Linked DNA regions of Homo sapiens: region 2 is linked to region 1. Evidence: promoter capture Hi-C in 16 types of primary human blood cells and fetal thymus (Javierre and others, 2016). All regions are on one chromosome and are shown on one strand. The core of a region is centred on a gene start or on the middle of the fragment in contact, and the rest is flanking DNA. Distances in the headings are between cores, read along the strand shown. Region 1 holds the start of HS3ST5 (heparan sulfate-glucosamine 3-sulfotransferase 5). Region 2 has its middle 270 kb from the start of RFPL4B.

What was found. Contacts are between HindIII fragments. The CHiCAGO score rates a contact against its expected background, and 5 or more counts as called.
Region 2: a fragment that was not itself captured here is called in contact with the fragment with the promoter of HS3ST5 in region 1 in 1 of 17 cell types (M2 macrophages); the score reaches 6.8 in M2 macrophages.

Annotation. Positions count from the first base shown.
Region 1 is chr6:114,340,880-114,346,010 of GRCh38, forward strand. HS3ST5 (heparan sulfate-glucosamine 3-sulfotransferase 5) reads right to left here and starts at 2,144. Exons shown (of 5, transcript NM_153612.4): 1 at 1,316-2,144. LOC107986638 (a long non-coding RNA gene) reads left to right here and starts at 1,446. Exons shown (of 8, transcript XR_002956366.2): 1 at 1,446-1,510. The HindIII fragment of the contact is 8,063 bases long and covers 1-5,131 here.
Region 2 is chr6:112,614,019-112,619,149 of GRCh38, forward strand. It overlaps the pseudogene PA2G4P5. Among named protein-coding and RNA genes, the nearest start is that of RFPL4B, 270 kb to the left of the region's middle. The HindIII fragment of the contact is 4,394 bases long and covers 457-4,850 here.

The sequences.
Region 1 (5,131 bases), core at 894-3,393:
TGAGAAGCACCAGCTGTTTATTACTTCTAGCAAATCAGTTTAGAAAGGAGCATTAGCACAGAAAGAAGGCCCACCCACCCACTTTCGCCCCCACCCAACCCGACCCTGCATGCTATTTATCAGACCAAGTTTACATAAATCAGAGAAGAGTTACAGTGCTATTAAATGTATCCACGAAGTAATATGACATAAAGCACTTTGCAAATATTAAATCTCTCCCCAGTGTTTTCTAAGAAGAAACTGGTATTCGTATTCGGAGACAGAGAGGAGAGGGGGAGAGAGGGGAGGGAGGGAGGGAGAGGGAGAGGGAGAGGGAGAGGGAGAGGGAATAGGGAGAGAGGGGGAGAGAGAGAGAGAGAGAGAGAGAGAGAGAGAGAGAGAGTGAGTCCCACCGGGTGAAGACAGGGTAGACCACGAATGTGAGCATCAGCTCCCTTGGGTGGGTGCCCTGAAGCACTGAAGTAGGGAAGCGGAAGAGTAGAGGAAACCCACCAAGGTGAAGTGACTCCGGAGTTGTTTGTTTGCTGGGCGCTTGGAACCTCCAGGTAAAGACATCCACCTTAAGCTGGACGCTCCTTGCAGGTTGCCCTAAACCAAGGTGGTCGCCCAAGTAACAGGAGCAGGAGTCTCAGCGCTCCAGTGAGTAGCGACAGCGACCTCTCAGACTTGTTTGTAGTAACAGTATGACCACCCTTCGACTGCATCCATCCCGCGCGCGCGCGCGCGTGTGTGTTGGGTGGGAAGAGATGCATAAAGTGGGGCTGTGAGGGGTGTGGGGGGGGCCAGCTGGGAAGAGAAAACCCCACCCACATGTTAACTTAGCCTTTGCCTGTTCTTTGCCTGCCCTCTGCCTGTCCTCTGCTGGGGCCTCGCAGGCCCCCACTGTCCCAAAGCTGCCCTCGCGCTCCAAACAGCTCCACAGCCACCCCAGAAGTGACCGAACGCGAACCCCTAAACTCTGGCGAGCGCAGTAAACGCGTGTTCCCTTTCTCCCTCAAAGAGAGCGCTACCCAGCGCTCTGGGAGAGACTGAGAGAGAAACAGACAGGCAGGCTGACTGACACCTTCTGTCTAATTTTACCCCAGGAATTGCCCCCGCCGTTTCTCATCTCGCACTAGTTTAACCTCTGGTCCTAAGCAAACCTCTCAAAAGTCTTCCCCAGGCAGCGCCCAGGAGAACCGAACCCCACAAAGTGCTTTTTTGCTGGCATCACCCGGATGCTTCCCTTTGGCGATTTGCCCCTTCTCATTTCCCCCCAAATCTAGAGGTCTCAAAGCCCCTCCCCCGCGCGAGGCGGGCAGCGCGCCTTGCTCACCGTGGTCCCCGGCGGTGGCGGCGCGGGCGGGAGCCTCAGGGCGCGGGGGTCGGCGGCGGGTCGCGTGGGGGTCACCCGGCCGCTGCTGCGGTCCGGACGGCAGTTGGTCCAGTAGTTTCGGATGCCCGGGCTAGGCTCGGCGGAGAGCGAGTCGGCGTGAATGAGAGCAAACCAACAGGGCTGTGCGTGGCGCGTGTGAGTAAGACGCGAGCGGGCCCCACACGCAGGCGGCGGCGGCGGCGGCGGCGGCGGCGAGGTCTGAGGCGGGGAGCCGGGCGGGGGGGCAGGCGGGCGAGAAGTAGTGGAGTTTAGGGCGCGTTTCCTGCACTTCCCCGAGAGGCTGGAACCAGGTGCGGCAGGGCGCGCTCCCGTGGCGCGGGCACGGCACGGGCGGCCGCAGGAGCCGGAGTCCGCGCAGTGCCGGAGACCGCAGCCGCTCTGCGGGGGGAGGTGCGCATCCTCCTTGCCCCACGAGGGCACCGGCGCAGCCCCGGACCCTGCGCGCAGAGGGCGAGACTTCGGGCGTCCTCGGTGACAGCTCCTCGGGCAGCCCGCTCCCTCCCAATCCGCCCAAAAGAGCAACACTCAGTGTGACTGGGATCTTCCCTTCCTGCGTCCTCGAGCCTCCGGTGCCAAGCTGTGCGGGCGCCCCGCTCCCCGCGGCTGGCGCTGTCACGGCCGCCGCCCGGCCCCCAGAGCGCCCGAGCCGGCAGCTGCCTCCCGGAGACGTGCCCAGCTGTGTGCGCGTGTGTGTGTCTAAGCGAATCTCTTCCCCTCCATCACTTGGGCGCGCAGGAGGGACCGGGTCCCTGGCGACCAGCTGCAGAGTGGCTGCCAGTCCACACCCTCCCGGCTCTCTCCCCACCCACCCCGCCCCTACTCCTCCTCGCCTTCCCCTCCTCCCCGTGCTCCTCCTCCAGCTGCCGCTCCCGAGCTCCCAAAGGCAGCGGAGAAACCGCAGCGAAAGGGAGGAGGAGGAGGGTGGGGAAGGAAGCGCAGGTGTCTTCGGCGGAGAGACGGGCGCACGCACCGGAGCGGCTTGCTGCAGGGGGAGGGCAGGGCCTTAGGCGGAGAAAGGGGAGGAGGAGGATTTACCCGGAGGCGGAGGTCCCGCAGCTGAGCCACTGCGCGTCCCACCCAGGCGCTGGAACCGCGGGCGAGCAGCGCAGTGGGGCTGCCGGGTGGGCGCGCAGGGCTCCCAGTTGGACTGAGGTCGCAGCTTGGGGAACCTGCGGAGGTGACCAGGGTGGCAGAACTCGGGGACACAGAGGTCGGAGGGACCCAATTGCTGAGGCGCTGAGACCGGTCTCTCTGGGGTGAGGGGGATGCCTAGACCCAGAGCTTGGGGCACACAGGTGTCCAGGAAGCTGGTGTGTGTGGCTCCAGAGTGCCAGGCGGGAGAGCCGGAGGCGGTGAAGGGTCGGGCGGCGGCCGCGGCGTGCTTGGGGCTGCTGTGTGCATCCGGAGTCACAGGGGGCGATCACCGCCTAGCTGGGAAGCGGAGCTCAGGACTCAGCCTTCTTTCAGGTCCCAAGTCCAAAAGCCGAGAGGCACACTAGCCTTCCCAATTTAGTCTGTGTTCCTCCAACCCTTTGCCCCCAGCAAAACAACAGGCCAGGAGCTGATTCTACCTGCTACTTACTGTGCTCTTTACCGGACTGAAAGGACTCTACTGCTCCAAGGAGACTGATGTGTTGCTTCCTCTCTCCCAACTCTAGTCCCCTCCCTCAACATACATTCCTACCCAACCAAAATTATCCAGAACATTGTATTTCTCATTGATAAACTTTTTCCCTCTGGGGTTCCCTAAAAATGAAAATCTTTCCTCCCTTTTTATCTGTAGAGGCATTAAGTCTCTTGCTTACATTTCATAGTACAAATGCAGTACACAGAAAAGTCCTTTAGGCAAGAAATCACAGCATTATTGCTTATGACGGCTTGTCTGTTTTCAAATGACAGTCGCAGAATGCAAATTTGTGTCAACCTGAGGTCAGTGGAGAGAGTTGGTCCATTTAATTAGAGGTATTTTGGAAGGAATCTGGGAAACAACACTAGAAAGAATTGCTGTACTTTCTCCAGTACCCATTCCTTTTTATTATGGTAATTTCACTCTGTTAATTTAGGCAATCTGAAAATGAAAGGTCGGATGCAATTTACAAGGCACAATATTTCTAGATTCTCATTCAACAGCCCGCCCCACCTCCTTCCTCCCACCACTCTTACCATCACCTCAAAAGGTCATGAGCTAAGAACCGAAACTGCACTTTTTAAATCTCAGGATATAGCCTGAATGACAAAGCTGTTGAGTTTTAGAAAGAGACCAGTTAAGTCTAAACTTATTTACCAACTACTCAGACAAAATCATATGCTCAGCAGCAACAATAAAATGTATACTGTGTAATATATTGAGCAGGAGGAAAGATGGCTGTTTGCCAGATATGTGATCCATTAACCTCTTTAGCTCATTGTTGGCAACAATAGCATACAATCACATTCCTATGTTTGAAAGACAAGAGATTTTTTTTTCCCATCTTAAAATCACAATGCCACATTATAGTCTAAAAGAAACCTCAAACAATAAAAGTAATAAGAAAGGAAGAAACATGGTTTGTTTTTTTTCTGAACAAATGTTGCTGTTCTGTTTTTTTTTCTTGAGGGGAAAAATGCTGATAAGCAATAAAGTCCACAAAAGCATGACAATAGATTTTGAAGAATGCATCACTCCATCTATTAGTCCTTTCAATTAGTAAACTTTATTTAAAAGGTTTATTTATATTATCTTTTGATTGGTATTCAGTCTTTCTTTTGTGCCTGGAAGATGACTGAGAAGGAGGATGGGTGAGCTGAATCTGGTTTCTCATAATTCTGTCTTGCATCAGGTTTATGTCTGGCAGGAGAGGAATGCTCAGCAGCCTGTGCTTTCTCAGCAATCCTAACTTCTCCTCAGAGGATCCTTTGCTCTGTAGCTGATGGATTGTGAGATTGTCACAGTAATTTTGCCTACCTGCTACAGGGTCACACCTGGGGTTGGGAGCAGGTACGGTTCCAAAAACTGGGATGCAATGCTCTGGAAAGAGCTTTTACCTTGCCCAGGGTTGGAGGATTAGATGAAGGTGCATGAGCTTTTTTGTGTTGCTTTTCAACTTCTACAGATGACCTGGATTTTCTGCTAGGTGAAGTGTGGAGGTGGGTGGGTGTGGTCTAACATTTTAAGAAACATTTTGGTATTGTGGTAAATTAAACAAATAAAACTAAACACTAGACATAATGGTACACCCAAAAAATCTATTTGAAATACAGTTTTGAAAACAGTCACAGATTTATTGGTTTAGCTTAGTCATCTATGCCAAATAAAGTACACAGCAATGAAAACATTTGGTTAATTAGAGTGTTCATTTGGTAAAGAATATATTTTTTTTCCTGAACATCAGCATACTCTCTTGTCTCATAAAGATGTAACCATTAAATATTATTTGGGCCAGTGATGCTAGCTTATGTCTATAATCCCAGCAATTTGGGAGGAGAAGGTGGAAGGATCACTTGAGGCCAAGAGTTTGAGATCAGCCTGGGCAACATAACGAGACCCCTTCTCCACAAAAAATTAGAAAAAAAAAAAAAATTAGCTGGGCAGGGTAGTGTATGCCTGTAGTCTCACCCACTCTGGAGGCTGAGCCAGGAGGATCCCTTGAGCCCAGGAGTTTGAGGTTACAGTCATCCATGATCACACCACTGCACTGCAGCCTGAGCAGCAGAGCAAGGCTCTGTCTCCAAAATATAAGAAATATTATTTACTTTACAGCTTCAAATGGAGACTGC
Region 2 (5,131 bases), core at 1,404-3,903, 1.7 Mb before region 1:
TTAGATAATAGATGTGAGTTGATATTTCATTGTGGTTTTAATTTTAATTTCCCCAATAATTGGTGATGTTGAACACTGTTTCATATACTTCTTGGCCATTCCCATTTCTTCTTTTGATAAATATCTATACAGGCACTTTGTCCATTTTTTAATCGTATTATTTGCCACTTTTCTTTGTTCCTGTTTGCTCAGCTCGAATTCTATTCAAATTTCAATTAGTTTGGGAAAATTATCCCTAGTGAAGGTAATGGTTTTGAATATCCTTTTGGAAATACAGTTCATCCTCACCCTTATATTCCTTTTTATCATTTCGGACAAATTATTTAATAGGCCAAAGCTTTACAAGTAAATTAATTGGCTAAAAGATGAACTCATATGCATTTTGATAACTTGAATGTGTTTGGCTACTTATACTCCATCAACAGAGAAAGCTGAGAAAGTAACTCTTTTATAATAAGCTTTTGAGTGGGGAAGGTCACATCCGATGGCCATGATAGAGTGGGTGGAACCAAGTTACTGTGTCATTTAGCACAGTCCTGCCCATTAGCTCTGAATCAAGTCTGTCTCTTAAATTACATTAATGTTGCTGGTAATTTCAAATCAGGAAACGTGGGTACTTTTTGAAGGAAGGATGTTTTGAATTTGTTGGTGACAAGGAAAGAGATAGCTTTAGCTCAGATTTGGAACAAAGAAGAAAACAATCTGGACCAAGGCAGCCTGTTTCAGAGGCCAGCTTGGTGTCTAGTGGCAATACCAACCTTCTGGGAGCACTTCTAGTTATGCTGGCCTATCTCAACTATACGAAAGGAAAGCACAGGAAGGAATTTTGCCTAAATTTGGACTGGAGTTTTAAAGGTGATCAGCAAGCCCTTGGGTGCTGTCTGTGTCATAGCAATGGGGCTTTAATTATAAAATCCCCAAGTGCAATACACAGATCAAGAGTTGAGTTCCAGTGTTCGATAGCCCAGGAGGGAAACTACTGTTACAATAACTTATTGTACATTTCAAAATAGCTGAAAGAAAGATTTGGAATTTTCCCAACACAAAGCAAGGGCAAACATATGAGGCATTGTATATCCCAATTACCCTAATTTGATCACTACACATTGTATGCATGTGTTAAAATATTGCATGTACCTCAGGAAGGTATATGATCATTATGTATCAGCAAAAAAAAGGTTTGAGGCCACTTGTCTAGTTCCTCAGCCTTTGTGACGATCTCTCCTAAGAAACTCATTTTTGTGTGTGTGTGTGTGTGTGTGTGTTTTTTTTTGAGATGGGGTCTCACTCTGTCGCCAGGCTGGAGTGCAGTGGCGCGATCTCGGCTCACTGCAAACTCCAACTCCCTGTTTCAAGCGATTCTCCTGCCTCAACCTCCCAAGTAGCTGGGATTACAGGCACACACCAACACTCCCAGCTAATTTTTGTATTTTTAGCAGAGACGGGGTTTCACCACGCCAGCCAGGCTGTTCTCGATCTCCTGACCTCGCAATCCACTCGCTTCGGCCTCCCAAAGTGCTGGGATTACAGGTGTGAGGCACTGTGCCCGGCCAGAAACTTTTTTTAAAAAAATTAAATAAAAGCATGTAAAATTTCATTTTATAAATAAGGCCATTTCTATTTTATTTCTATTATTATCCACAGATATTTATTTATTTATTATTTTTATTTTTATGAGAAAATTCAAATTTATTTTAATGTCATGTCATTTTCAATGTGCTTAAAAACCTCATAAATTAGTAGGAGCCCTAGTTTCCTGGGACAGCATGCCAGATGTACTGAAATTTGTCACCTTTCCCTACAAACCCCTAGAAATTTAATCCAAGTCCATAGCTTCAGAAAGCTAGGAGTTGTATCTTCAGACAGTCTACTCCTCTGGTTCTTGGTTTTTCTTTCAAGGGAAGGAGATCACAATATTTCAAACAGTGAACAAAACCAGTTGAGCTTCCAGCTCAGTTTTCTGTAGAATGGAGCAGGGAAGACCCCACTGACTCCAGAGAAAAGGGTGAGGTTGAGATGGATTATTTCTTTACAGCTTTGTGAAAATGGAAGAAAAAAGATTGACTAATTCAGATCCATTTCATAGATAAGAATCGCTTCATAAATGAAGGCTCCAGCTCCTAAAATGGGAGGGGCCTGGCTGGACAGCCTGAATCAGATGAGGAATTGGCCACACTGAATAAAAACAATCTGAAAAATAATCCTAATTTTGAAGCCAGATAAAATACTTGGGGAGAATGGAAAAAAGGAAAAAGCCCCAAACGGATGAAAAAATGCTAACATCAGAATGGTATAAAAAAATTTGGCTGAGTTTTCAGTGGTGGTGGCCAATTTAGCCTGGTTCTGTAGTAGGGTCACAAACCTTGACCAAGCAGAGAGTAGTAGAAAAGGCTAGAAAGAGGGGCTTGAAGACTATGAATTTTGACCCCTGATTTTATTATTCAATTTCTTTTTTTCATCTAAAGTAGTCTTCCGTGCCCAGGAAGCCTCGCCTCCCAAGACCAGAGTCAGTTGGAGCCGGTTGTTGTTGGAAAGGAGTGGGTTGGGTAACTGGGGTGGAGGCAGGGAGACCCCCACTCTGCTGGATGTCCTAGGTGGAGAAGAAGAACTGCACTTCACAGAGTCTGGGGTGTAGTGGGAAGGGGATGAGGCAGGAGCAGCAAGCTGGGGAGATGGGACCCACCTCAGTCCCCAGCTTCATTTTCTTCTAATATTTCCCCACTGGTGGCATTTTCTGCAGTCTTGGAGGCCTTCTTTTTTTTTTCTGGGTTTTTCGACTTGCAGAACTCGAGCAGGGCCTTTAGCTCTGCATCCTGGACCTCCATCTCAGACTTGTAGAGGTCAGGCTTGAGGGGACTACTGGTTATCCGCATGGGGCCACTGGGCATGAGCAGAACTGTAAATTTAAACTGGGCAAAAAATTCACTCTCCTTCTCATGGAGAACATTAAATGGTTGCAGCAGTTCATGTTTGGCACACTCCACCACACCTATCCGAGCCTTCTTCTCATCTTCAAATGCTCTTAAAGTAAACAGCATGACATCAAAACGCCTTTCCATCCACTGAAGAAGGCACGTGAAGTTTTCATTTTCAGTCCATACTCTTCAGGAGTGTCTCATTTGTAAATAGGGGTTCTCTGTCCTGCATCCTTGGCCTTGCCCTCTCCTGAGCTGATGAGAACATCCACAGCGTATACTTCATATACCTCAAATTCATCTTTTTCGTGGTCCTTCTTCTGCTGGTCTGTGGGATTCTGGATAACGGTTTTTTCTCCATCGATGACATGCTGCTTCAACTGGTGTGACAGCATACCTTCTATTGGCTTGTAGTTAAATTACTGGGCAACTTTGTTCCAGGCTTCTGTCACTTGTGTGTTCTGATTTCCAGGTTTGACCAGGCGTAGGGCAGCTTCAGCACAAAGGTGAGCTGCCTTAATAACATCTGCTTTCCTCCCTGTTACTTGGGTCCCCTGAGCCACATCAACCACAAAAGTATGAGCTACATTAGCGATGAAGCCATCCACATAGACCCCAAGGTCAATTTTTACCAAGTCACCTTCCTTGAGAATATAATCCTGGCCACTCTCCAAAGGGGAGAAGTGACATACACAGTTATTTACTGAAATACTGGTGGGAAAAGCAATGCCTTTCTTCATTTCCTTTTCTTTCTTGAAGATTTTCCCTGTTTCTTCCATAATCACGGCATCACTTTTCTCACACAGGCTCAGTACCAATACACCTGAGCTAGATGCTTCCACCAAGGACCTAAGTACCCGGTGGGCAATGTCGCCCCCCATCTTATACTTGGTCACAACCAGGTCTTCAGCGATAGTTTGCTTCTGCTGCTCGTCCTCACCCTACATCTTCCTACCACCACCACTGCAGCCTCATTTCTCCTGAGCCGCCGCCTCTGTCTCCCTTCCTTGCCGCAGGCTTTGGTCAGAGCCCCCTGGATCCTTGAGGAGAGGGTGAGCGAAAGCGCGAGCTAGCAAGGGAGCGGGCAGGCAGGCGAGCGTCATCCACAGATATTTAAATGAAAGAGACAAGCATACCACACCTTAAAATTTTGAGAATTGAGGAAAGAAAGACATTCTTTTTCTATGAACATGCCAAGCGGGATCCTAACTTAGGGTGTTTGCATTAGTTATTTCCTCAGCTGGAAAGCTGTTTCCCCAGAGCTTCCTTCTCATTCTTGACTCCTTCTTGCCATTCAGGTCTCAACTCAAACTTCGGTGAAAACTTTTTGATTAACTAAACTGCAGTCCCTTGGTGTTTCACTGGCATAGCACCTTAATATATTTTCACCTTGGCACTTTCATATTCTTATTGTATTCTTGATATATTGGCTATTTGCTTACTGTCTACCTTCATCAACGTGAATGTAACTACCAAGAAAGTAAAGACTTTGACTGTCTTGGAGTTGAGTGTTGTATTACTAGTACTTTGAGTATCTGGTGTCACATAATATCTAATCAATAAATAAATGTTTAAAGAATGAATGACATGAAAGCAATAGTGATTGAGTAGAATGAAGCCTCTTCAGATGAATTATATTGGACACAAGAAAAAATAGCTGGGATGTAAAATGAGCTAAAATAGCAGTTAAATAGGTATTAACAAACTGGTTCAAGAGTGTAATTCACTTCATATTGACCAGCCAGAGGTAATAGCAAGCAGCTTTCTAATTGAACAGGGCCCAAACAATATGGTTACTTATGACTAATTAAATTAATCATCTTCGACTTTGTTAAGTGTCTTATAGATGTTTAAAATATCTAAGAAGTATTTACTATATCTATATGATTTATTAGAGGTCATTCTCAATATTCACGGAACACTAAGGAGCTGCCAAGCTTCATTTGAAATGCTGGGGATACAATGGTGAATTAGAAAGCATTCACTGCCTTCAAAGAACATACTCTGCTGTCTAGAGTCTGGAGGAGGATACAGGACAGGAGACTGGTGGGGCCACCATGTGGCGAGTGTTAAGATATTGCCAAATAGTGTTACGGGAGCACAATGGAAGGGCATAAAAGGTCACAAAAACTTCCTTGAGAATGTAAAATCTAGGATAAATAAACTTGTAGGAAAGCTACAAATTAGCTAATCAAATGTGAAAGTTGGTAAAAGGG